Regions from separate parts of the Homo sapiens genome. Here regions 1 and 2 are each linked to region 3. Evidence: promoter capture Hi-C in 16 types of primary human blood cells and fetal thymus (Javierre and others, 2016). All regions are on one chromosome and are shown on one strand. The core of a region is centred on a gene start or on the middle of the fragment in contact, and the rest is flanking DNA. Distances in the headings are between cores, read along the strand shown.

What was found. Contacts are between HindIII fragments. The CHiCAGO score rates a contact against its expected background, and 5 or more counts as called.
Region 1: a contact is called between the fragment with the promoter of ASB16 here and a fragment that was not itself captured in region 3, in 2 of 17 cell types (neutrophils and erythroblasts). The highest score is 5.5, in neutrophils.
Region 2: the fragment with the promoter of HROB here is called in contact with a fragment that was not itself captured in region 3 in 1 of 17 cell types (erythroblasts); the score reaches 5.5 in erythroblasts.

What each region holds. Positions count from the first base shown.
Region 1 is chr17:44,168,086-44,172,111 of GRCh38, reverse strand. ASB16 (ankyrin repeat and SOCS box containing 16) reads right to left here and starts at 1,408. Exons shown (of 5, transcript NM_080863.5): 1 at 1,022-1,408; 2 at 1-66. The coding sequence starts at 1,322. The HindIII fragment of the contact is 23,995 bases long and covers 1-4,026 here.
Region 2 is chr17:44,140,138-44,144,110 of GRCh38, reverse strand. It overlaps HROB (homologous recombination factor with OB-fold), which reads right to left and starts at 2,181. Exons shown (of 10, transcript NM_001171251.3): 1 at 1,966-2,181. The coding sequence starts at 1,968. RefSeq lists silencers at 1,356-1,650, 1,897-1,956 and an enhancer at 2,257-2,426. The HindIII fragment of the contact is 21,085 bases long and covers 1-3,973 here.
Region 3 is chr17:44,389,486-44,392,865 of GRCh38, reverse strand. It overlaps ITGA2B (integrin subunit alpha 2b), which reads left to right and starts at 3,217. Exons shown (of 30, transcript NM_000419.5): 1 at 3,217-3,380. RefSeq lists an enhancer at 3,001-3,060. The HindIII fragment of the contact is 1,622 bases long and covers 1,148-2,769 here.

The DNA of each region.
Region 1 (4,026 bases), core at 159-2,658, 220 kb after region 3:
AGCCTCGGGCTGTAGCGATGGCGAGGGGTGCCGTCTGCTTGGTCTTGGGGGTCAGCACCCAGAACCCTAGGGAGAGCAAATAGTTTTGGGAGGTGGTGTATAAGACAGGGCAGGGCAGGGAGTGGGGATGCTGGTTCCAGCTGACAGCTGACACTGGCCTTCCCTCTGCATGGTTTGCTGAGCACAAACACTGCCAGGCTGTACCTGTGGAAGGGGGCTTATTCAAGTCCTGAAGTGGAAGAATAAATTGGAACAGCCTTTTAATACAGCTTATCAATCTGTAACAAAACATAGTATGTGTCATAAAAAAATTAATTGCTGTATAAAACCACAGGGGCCAACTAAGTAGAGTGACTCCCATTAAGGAAATCTCAGCGTCTTTGAATGGCTAATAGTGTCAAAGGCTTGTTCACCTTGGGGCCTGGGGTGGTGGCTCACACCTGTAATCCTAGCACTTTGGGAGGCCAAGGCGGGATGATCACTTGACCTCAGGAGTTCGAGATGAGCCTGGGCAACATAGTGAGACCTTGTCTCTTTTTTTTTTTTTTTTAGGCAGGGTCTCGCTCTGTCCCCCAGGCTGGAATGCAGTGGCGCTATCTTGGCTCACTGCAAGCTCCGCCTCCCGGGTTTAAGTGATTCTTCTGCCTCAGCTGCTGAGTAGCTGGGATTACAGGTGCGCACCACCATGCCCGGCTAATTTTTCTATTTTTAGTAGAGATGGGGTTTTACCATGTTGGTCAGGCTGGTCTCAAACTTCTGACTTCGTGATCCGCCTGCCTTGGCCTCCCAAAGTGCTGGGATTACAGGCGTGAGCCACTGTGCCCGGTCAACTTTTAATTCTTAAAAGACATACAGACTGCTAACCCTGCCTCATCTCTGTTTAGGAGGGAGCTAGGATAGGTGGTGGAAAGGGCTGCTATAGTCTGTGGTCTGCAGGGAAGGAGGGGCCTAGACTCTCCCCCTTCCCCACCCACTCCCCTTCTTTCTCCCTCCTCTTCTGCCCTCTTCTGGTGCCCCCTACCCTGTTCAGCCGACCAGGCCAGCTGGTTGCTCACAGTCTCCACAATCATGTTGGCGGCCTCTTCATCTTGGAACAGGGCTTGGACCTGCTGCAGGTTGCCGGAGAAGAGGGCTTGGTGGACAGCTGGGTCTCGGCAGGAACGGTGAGGCCTAGTGAGTCGGGCCCGGGGACTTGACGGGCACCTGCGGCTCCGGCACTGCTGGGCAGCCGCCCGCCGCCGGTCCTCCCATTCCAGCCACTCCTGCTGCAGGCGGAGAGAGCGCAGCATGGAGGAGGTGAAGGGGAAGGTCTCTCTTGCCATGGATGGGGCCCAGGGGTTTGGGCAGTGGCACCTGGGCAGAGCCAGGTTCCCTCGACCCGACTACCTCCCTTGCTCTGAGGAGCCACCCTGCCCCCGCCACCGTGAGCCAGAGAAAGCAGCAGCTGAGGCTATAAATAGGTCCTTTGCTGCTCTGGTAAACATGGTTTGCTCAGAGTCATGATCCTGGTGCTGAGAAGCTGCTGGCCCAACCCCCAGCCCAGGGTGAGGGCCAGCCCCTGCCCCTGCCGATACCCTTTGGTTGGTCAGCAGGCCCTCAGCTGAGGCCACCCCCGAACCCCAGCATCTGCATCCACCTTCATCTCTAGAGCGAGCATCTTGGGTTGGCAAGGTCCAGGGTGCGCAAAAAGGTCAGTCATGGAGATGGGCAGGGCTGGGAGGAAGACAAGGTGCCTCCAGCCTCTCTGATGTTGGCTGGAGGGCAGGAGCCACCATTGGCCCACGTGGAGGAGAGAGGGCTGACCTCAGCACAGGAGGTAAGGGGAGGTCAAGGCAGAGTTACTGAGAAGGTGAGCAGCTCTTCCCAGCATCTGCAGTAACAGCAATAACTCTGTACATATGCACAGAGTTTCACGGTGTTTAAATCACATTCATATCCACCTTCACCCAGGGGATCATACTTCCCAGCCCACCCAATAATTAGTAAACTTGGTTTGGACAATAAATGAAATTATCACAGTTGAATGCCCCTGAGATGGGTGGTCTTATCTCTGTTTTACAGATGAGGAATTTAAGGCTTAACAAAGTAATCTACTGGCTCAAGGTCACAGTTTGTGAGAGGCAGAGCCAGGACCCCACATAGATGGTGTGCTTTGGGCCAAGAATGGTGGCTCATGCCTGTAATCCTAGCACTTTGGGAGGCCAAGACAGGAGGATTGCTTGAGCCTAGGAGTTTGAGACAATCCTGGGCAACACAGTGAGACCTATATCTTTTTTTTTTTTTTTTTTTTTTTTGAGACAGAGTCTCACCCTGTCTCCCATGCTGGAGTGCAATGGCACGATCTTGGCTCACTGCAACCTCCGCCTCCCGGGCTCAAACGATTCTCTTGCCTCAGCCTCCTGAGTAGCTGGGATTATAGGCACCCGCCACCATGCCCAGCTAAATTTTGTATTTTTAGTAGAGATTTAATTTAGGGTTTCACCATGTTGGCCAGGCTGGTCTCGAACTCCTGACCTCGTGGTCTGCCCGCCTCGGCCTCCCAAAGTGCTAGGATTATAGGCGTGAGCCACCACCCCCTGCCTCTCCATCTCTTAAAAAAAGAAGAAAAAAAAAAAAAGATGGTACACTTTTTGCCTTCAGCTGCTGCAGCCACCTGGCAGCCTCCCCCATTCTCCAAGCAGGACAGACTAGTCTGTAGAAACTGCCTTCAATCATCCTTTTTTTTTTTTTCTCATGGTGTCACCCAGTCTGGAGTGCAGTGGGGTGATCTCGGCTCACTGAAACCTCCGTTTCCTGGGGTTCAAGTGATTCTCCTGCCTTAGCTGCCTGAGTAGCTGGGATTATAGGTGCATGCCACCATGCCCAGCTGATTTTTGTATTTTTATTTATTATTATTTTTTTTTTGAGATGGAGTCTCGCTCTGTCACCCAGGCTGGAGTGCAGTGGCGCGACCTCGGCTCACTGCAAGCTCCGCCTCCCGGGTTCACGCCATTCTCCTGCCTCAGCCTCCCGAGTAGCTGGGACCACAGGCGCCTGCCACCACACCTGGCTAATTTTTTGTATTTTTAGTAGAGACAAGGTTTCGCCGTATTAGCCAAGAATAGGATGGTTTCGATCTCCTGACCTCGTGATCCGCCCGCCTCGGCCTCCCAAAGTGCTGGGATCACAGGCGTGAGCCACCGCGCCCGGCCGATTTTTGTATTTTTAGTAGTCGGTTTCGCCATGTTGGCCAGGCTGGTCTGAAACTCCTGACTTCAGGCGATCTGCCCGCCTCGGCCCCCCAAAGTGTTGGTATTACAGGCGTGAGCCACAGCTCCCAGCACCTTCAATCATCCTTGATTTATTTTTTTAACCCAGCTGCTAAGGGGGCTCACATGGCCGGCCTGAGGAGAGCCAAGGGGTTGAGCTGGAAACTCTGGGAATGGACCTAAGATGTTTAAGCCACAGACCTGTTCACTCTTAGGAGAAAGCAGCTGTGCTTCCAGGAGCCTCTAGGGGGAGGAATGAAGCCGTGAAACCACACAAGCTGGTGTGCCTGCCAAGCTGGGGAAGGGGAGGGCTCAAAAGCTCTGCTCACCCTGAGCTCACTCAGTGCACAGCGGCCTGCAGGCAGGGCTGGTCTGTCCCCTCTGCATCTGGGGCTCCTCCTGGCCCTTCTCCCGCTGCCTGTCCTGCCTCCTGGCCCTGCAGCAGCACCTTGCCCAGTGATCTTTTATTTCTTCCTCTCCCTAGGCCCTTCCCATAAGCAAGTTCTAGCTCCTGTTCTTACATTTTCAGGGACTGTCTCAAGTTCAGCCCCTCGATGTAATGCCTTAAACCTGGATCAACTCAGTCTTTCACCTGGTGTTTCTTCCTCTGGCCATATCCCTTCTGCTCCGCTGCCGGAATGATCTGTCTAAAATGGTTAATTCCCTTGCTTAAAAACTTCTGCTGCCTTCCAATACCTGTCCTTTCATTTTTTTAAAATAGGGCTCCAAATCCTGGCCTCAAGCAGTCCTCCCAAGTCAGCCTCCTGAATTGCTGGGA
Region 2 (3,973 bases), core at 932-3,431, 250 kb after region 3:
AGCTACTTGGAAGGCTAAGGCAGGAGAATTGCTTGAACCCGGGAGGTAGAGGTTGCAGTGAGCCAAGATTGCACCACTGAACTCCAGCCTGGGCGACAGAGCAAGACTCTGTCTTAAAAAAAAAAAAGGAAAGAAAGATTAAAAAACTTTCTTGTAACATAATCCACTCAGAACCATCTGCACTAATCCTGGAAGGGAAGAAAGGGGGCAAAGGGAAGGCTGCCTAGGGGAGCAAGGGCAGTTCTCCAGGACTGTGCACATGGGCGTAAACATTTTGTTTTTGTCTTTTGTTTTGAGACAGGGTCTTGCCCTATTGCCCAGACTGGAGTGCAGTGGCAAGATCATAGCTCACTGCAGCCTCAATCTCCTAGGCTCAAGTGACCCTCCCACCTCAACCTCCTGAGTAACTGGGACTACAGGTGTGCACCACCGTGCTCAGCTAATTTTCTTTTTTTTTTTTTCTTCCTGAGACGGAGTCTTGCTCTGTTGCCCAGGCTGAAGTCCAGCGGCACGATTTTGGCTCACTGCAACCTCCACCTTCCAGGTTCAAGCAATTCTCCTGCCTTAGCCTCCCAAGTAGCTGGGATTACAGGCCAAGCCACAATGCCTGGCTATTTTTTTTTGTATTTTTAGTTGAGACAGGGTTTCACCATGTTAGCCAGGCTGGTCTTGAACTCCTGACCTTGTGATCTGCCCACCTCAGCCTCCCAAAGTGCTGGGATTACAGGCGTGAGCCACTGCGCCCAGGCTAATTTTTAAATTTTTATAGATACGGGGCCTCACTACATTGCCCAGGCCAGTCTTGAACTCCTGGGCTCAAGTGATCCTCCCACTGTGGCCTCCAAAGTGCTGGGATTATAGGTGTCAGCCACAGGCTGGGCATGGTGGCTCACTCCTGTAATCCCAGCACTTTGTGACGCCAAGGCGGGTGGACCACCTGAGGCCAGGAGTTCAAGAACAGCCTGGCCAACAAAGTGAAACCTCGTCTCTACTAAAAATAGAAATAAGTTAGCTGGGGTGGTGGTGCCCGCCTGTAATCCCAGCTTGTTGGGAGTCTAAGGCAGGAGAATTGCTTGAACCTGGGAAGTGGAGGTTGCAGTGAGCGGAGATCGCACCACTGCACTTCAGCCTGGGCCACAGAGTGAGACTCTGTCTCAAAAAAACAAACAAACAAAAACAGGTGTCAGCCACGGCCCCTGGCTTGGGCCTAAGGATTTTGCAATATCCCAAAGGTTTCGCCTGACCAATCTTATGTCAAACATAAGAGAAACTACCATAAATCCAAACATGTCTGCACAGTGGCATTGTTTCTGCAAATGAAGCCAGTAGTTTCCCTACCTAATCCAAGGCCCAAAAACTAGGGTCCCAGGAGAGTAGGATGCCCCAGTCCACGGTTCCTTCTTTCTAGCCAGCAGGGCTGCTGTAGCCAGTTCCTGATGAGTGTCAAACCCAGATCAGAGGTGGTGCCTAACCCCAGATGCCAGAGCCGCAGGAGCTACAGCTGGCGATACAGTTCCCAAGACTCTAAGGGTCAGAGTGAAAGGGGTGGGCGGGAGACGACGGTTGCAGTGAGCAGAGATCACGCCACTGCACTCCAGCCTGGGCGACAGAACGAGACTTCGTCCAAAAAAAAAAAAAAAAAAAGTAGAAAGTGTGGGGCGGGGAGGGGAAAGGGATGGACCCAAGCGGTAGTGACGTCTGAGCGCACTGGAAAGGGGGGTTTCCCAGGAGGGTAGGAAGGCAACAGGAGGGAAACTGAGGCCCGGGGGAGGAGAATGCTTTCTCAGGGTCTCCGGCGCGTCCATGACAAGCCCTGACGACAGCCCAGGTCTCCCGACTCCGCCGAACCCCCACCCAGACCCCGGTCCTGCAACTTGCGCGGGCGAGGGGCTGGAACCCCATGAGCAGTTCCGGAGGCCAGGGGGCCCTGCGGCCCGCCAGCCCCCAAGCTGGGCGCGGCATTACCATAGCGACGGCGGGTGGGCCTCGGCGGGGAGGTTGGCCCGGCACCCCGAGTCCGGGGAGTCGCCGGGGCCTTGGACACGACCCAGGTGGAAGTCTCGGACTCCGAGGGACAGTGCTTCCGGGCTGGGGTCAGAGGGATGAGTCTCTGCGATATAGGGAAAGTCGCCAGGAGACTGGCGGCAGGCGCCTTAGGCCGCATTCGAAGACGCCGCCACTGGGGCGTCTCCGCCTTCTTAAAGGGGCAGGCATATTTCTTTCCCGCCGACACAAAGGGCCTTCTCACTGTAGTCTTCCGCTCTGGTCTTAAAGGGGAAACGGATGGGCTCTCGGTCGCCCCCAAGCGGCTCCTCTTCCCAGTCGGCTGGTTCAGCACTGGTTCAGGTGAGATCAAGCATCTTGGCCCCACGATGCCTAATCCTGCCCCCGCCCCTTTCTTTTCCGTTCTTTTTTTTTTTTCTTTTTTAAACCGAATCTCGCTCTGTCGCCCAGGCTGGAGTGCAGTGGCGCGATCTCGGCTCACTGCAACCTCCGCCTCCCGGGTTCAAGCGATTCTCCTGCCTCAGCCTTCGAAGTAGCTGGGATTACAGGCGTAAGCCATGGCGCCCGGCCTCCCTGCTTGACTTAATACTGCTTCAGAGCAAGACTGTGGCTTTTCACCTTTGTGAACCAGCATGTGGCACATTGAAGACACTCAGAAAATGAGTTTGTTTTTGTTTTGAGACTTACTTTACTCCCTTACCCAGCCCGGAGTGCAGCGGCACAGTCATGGCTCACTGCATCCTCCACCTCTTGGGCCCAAGCAGTCCTCCCACCTCAGCCTCCTGAGTAGCTGGGATCACAGGCACACACCACCAAACCCAGTTAACTTTTTTTTTTTTTGACACGGAGTCTCACATTGTTGCCCAGGCTGGAGTGCAGTGGCACGATCTTGGCTCACTGCAACCTCTGCCTCTCAGGTTCAAGCGATTCTCCTGCTTCAGCCTACCAAGTAGCTGGGATTACAAGTGCCCGCCACCACGCCCGGCTAATTTTTTTTTTTTTTTTTTTTTTTTGAGACAGTCTCGCTCTGCAGGACAGGCTGCAGTGCAGTGGCATGATCTCGGCTCACTGCAACCTCTTCCTCCTAGGCTCAAGCAATTCTCCTGCCTCAGCCTCCCGAGTAGCTGGGATAACAGGCATGTGCCATCATGCCTGGCTAATTTTTGTATTTTTAGTAGAGACAGGGTTTCACCATGTTGGCCAGGCTGGTCTCGAACTCCTGACCTCAGGTAATCTGCCCGCCTCTGCCTCCCAAAGTGCTGGGATTACAGACGTGAGCCACTGCGCCCAGCCACGCCCAGCTAATTTTTTGTATTTTTAGTAGAGACAGGGTTTCACCATGTTGGCCAGGATGGTCTCGAACTCCTGACCTCAGGTAATCTGCCCGCCTCTGCCTCCCAAAGTGCTGGGATTACAGACGTGAACCACTGCGCCCAGCCACGCCCAGCTAACTTTTTGTATTTTTAGTAGAGACAGGGTTTCACTATGTTGCCCAGGCTGGTCTTGAACACCTGACCTCGTGATCCACCCGCATTGGCCTCCCGAAGTGCTGGGATTATAAACGTGAGCCACTGTGCCTGGCCTAAGCCCAGCTAATTTTTTTATGTTTATTTGTTGTAGAGATGAAGGCTCCCTATGTTGCCCAGGCTGAACAAGTGTTTGTTGAATGACTTGATGCCATTTGTCAGGAGGGAGTGCGAATGGCTGGGCAACTCAATGCTCACTTCCGCGGTGGCTCTTGCCTGTAATCTCAGCACTTTGGGAGGCAGAGGCGGGCGGATCACAAGGGCAGGAGATCGAGACCATCCTGGCTAACATGGTGAAACCCCGTCTCTACTAAAAATACAAAAAAATTAGCCGGGTGTGGTGGCGGGCGCCTGTAGTCCCAGCTACTTGGGAAGCTGAGGCAGGAGAATGGCATGAACCCGGAAGGCGGAGCTTGCAGTGAGCCGAGATCACGCCACTGCAC
Region 3 (3,380 bases), core at 709-3,208:
GCAAGATCCTGTCTCAAAAATAAAAAGAATATGAGCCAAGTAAAATATCATTAACTGAGGATTGTGCATCAGAATTGAGCCAAAAAAAATTCAAAAATGTGTTTTTTGGTTTTTGGTTTTTTGGGTTTTTTGAGATGGAATTTTGCTCTTGTTGCCCAGGCTGGAGTGTGATGGCACGATCTCGGCTGACCGCAACCTCCGTCTCCCAGGTTCAAGCAATTCTTCCTCAGCCTCCCAAGCAGCTGAGATTATAGGTGTGCACCACCACACCCGGCTAATTTTTGTATTTTTAGTAGAGACAGGGTTTTGCCATGTTGGCCAGGCTGATCTCAAACTCCTGGCCTCAAGCGATCCGCCCACCTTGGCCTCCCAAAGTGTTGGGAGATTACAGGTGTGAGCCACCATGCCCAGCAAAAAAAAAAAAAAAAAAAAAAAAAATTGTTTTTTAGGCATAGTCTTACTCTTGCCCAGGCTGGAGTGGAGTGGCAAAATCGTAGTGCACTGTAACCTAAAACTCGTGGGCTCAAGTGATTCTCCTGCCTCGGCCTCCTCAGTAGCTGGAACTACAGGTGTGCACTACCGTGCCTGGCTAATTTTAATTTTTTTGTAGAGACAGGGTCTCACTATGTTGCCCAGGCTGGTCCCAAACACCTGGCTTCAAGCAATCCTCATCTTGGCCTCCCAAAGTGCTAGGGTTACAGGCATGAGCCACCAAACCTGGTGTAAAAAATCTTTATAATTTTATTTTTCTTTTCTTTCTTTCTTTTTTTCTTTTTTGATGGAGTCTCACTCTGTCGCCCAGGCTGGAGTGCAGTGGCATGATCTTAGCTCACTGCCACCTCCGCCTCACAGGTTCAAGCAATTCTTTTGCCTCAGCCTCCCAAGTAGCTGGGATTACAGACACACACCACCACGCCCAGCTAATTTTTGTATTTTTAGTAGAGACGGGGTTTCACTAGGTTGGCCAGGCTGGTCTCAAACTCCTGACCTTGTGGTCCACTCGCCTGGGCCTCCCAAAGTGCTGGGATTACAGGCATGAGCCACCATGCCCGGCTAAAATCTTTATGATTTTCCATCCCCCATGGATTAAAGTTCAGATTCCTTAATATGGCATTCAAGGACCTCCAGTAATTTGAATCCCCAAGCTTTACCCCCTTGCGCCTCAGTCCAACCCTTTAAGCATTCTGCTATGCTGAGTCAACTACTTGTCCTTCCCTACCTCTGTGTTCCTTTGCTGCTCTCATGTATTCTCTATGCCTAAAAACCCTTTCATTCTCTGACAAAAGGCAACTTGAACATGAGTTCAAGTGCAACCCATGTTTGAATCTTAGTTTTGCCATCTGTTGGCTGCGTAAACATGGGCAATTTACCTAAAACTCTTGTGCCACAGTTTTGTGTTTATAAAATGGGCATAATAGTACTTATTTCCTAGGGTTGTTATGAGTAACAATGATATACGACTTTGATAATCTGTGTATTTTTCAAGGCATGCTTGACTGTCTCTCTGCTGCAGTTATGTGTGTTCATGTCTTAACTCTTTCTGGGCTGTTTGTTAAGTCTCCTTGATGGCTATCTTTGGAGTTTTTAAAATATTTTATTTTTTATAATTTTAAAATAGAGACGAGGTCTCACTGTATTGCCTAGGCTGGTCTTAAATGCCTGAGCTCAAGCCATCCTCCTGCCTCAGCCTCCCAAAGTGCTGGGATTACAGGCATGAGCCACTATACCTGGCCTAATGGTTATCTTTGTATCCTTTATCAACACAGTGCCTTGAACAGAGTAAATACTTATTGAAAACTTGAGTGAAATGTAAGTTCATATTTGGCCTCACAGAATACACCAGTAATACAGCAATCACTCACCTGAGGACAGTGGGAGGATAGAAGGTAAGTAGAGGACTGGGTTAAGTATTCGTTCAAGCAAATACATTAATTACACGCCTCCCATGTACTTGACACTGGGAACTCAGCAATGAAGAAGGCCCAGACCAAAGTTCAGGCTTTTAGCTTCCTGTCCTATAAAGGATAAGATTCTTAACTCTAGGCTGAGGTAGTAAATTACGAGGGGACTTCAAAATGGTACAGGGTGGTTGAGCAGGATACGGCAATGGTTAAGTTTGATCAGAAAATAGAAATCAAAAGGAAAATGTGGCTATGGTTACCCCTAGCGGACCTCTTAAATCTTCCTGAGAACCTGCTTTTTTGGGAAGGCATGAGTGCCAGTAAGACTTGGCACTCCTCCTCTTCCGCTTACCGAGAGAAAATGACTTTGCCTTTCTGCTCAAAACTCATCCCTTCACTTTGTCACCCTATGTTTGCATCTTCCATCCTTAGTGTGTGTTTCCATCCAGTCTTTCAGCAATACACGTACTACACATTGGACTCTTGGGTAGTCTCTAGGGCTGTAGCAAGGAGCCTTGCTCCCAAGGGACTCATTTACACAATCCTGTGAACGGACCAAGAGTAAACAGTGTGCTCAATGCTGTGCCTACGTGTGTTAGCCCACGCGGCCAGCCTGAGGAGTCAGGGAAGGCTCCCCTAGGCAAAGCCCCCAACCAGAATCAAGTCTTAATGGTTAAAGAGCTCCATCACCCAAAAAGGATTGAGGGCCTACCTTCAACTGAACAGCTAATGCATAATCTCAGAAACTGTGAGTCAAAATTCCCTGGAATAACTCCACTTTATCCCCAATCTCCTTGCCACCTAGACCAAGGTCCATTCACCACCCTGTCCCCAGCACTGACTGCACTGCTGTGGCCACACTAAAGCTTGGCTCAAGACGGAGGAGGAGTGAGGAAGCTGCTGCACCAATATGGCTGGTTGAGGCCGCCCAAGGTCCTAGAAGGAGGAAGTGGGTAAATGCCATATCCAAAAAGATACAGAAGCCTCAGGTTTTATCGGGGGCAGCAGCTTCCTTCTCCTTCCCCGACCTGTGGCCAAGTCACAAAGCACCACAGCTGTACAGCCAGATGGGGGAAGGGAGGAGATTAGAACTGTAGGCTAGAGTAGACAAGTATGGACCAGTTCACAATCACGCTATCCCAAGCAGAAAGTGATGGTGGCTTGGACTAGCACGGTGGTAGTAGAGATGGGGTAAAGATTCAAGAGACATCATTGATAGGCAGAACCAATAGGACATGGTAATAAACTATTCTCAGGAAAGGGGAGGAGTCATGGCTTTCAGCCATGAGCATCCACCCTCTGGGTGGCCTCACCCACTTCCTGGCAATTCTAGCCACCATGAGTCCAGGGGCTATAGCCCTTTGCTCTGCCCGTTGCTCAGCAAGTTACTTGGGGTTCCAGTTTGATAAGAAAAGACTTCCTGTGGAGGAATCTGAAGGGAAGGAGGAGGAGCTGGCCCATTCCTGCCTGGGAGGTTGT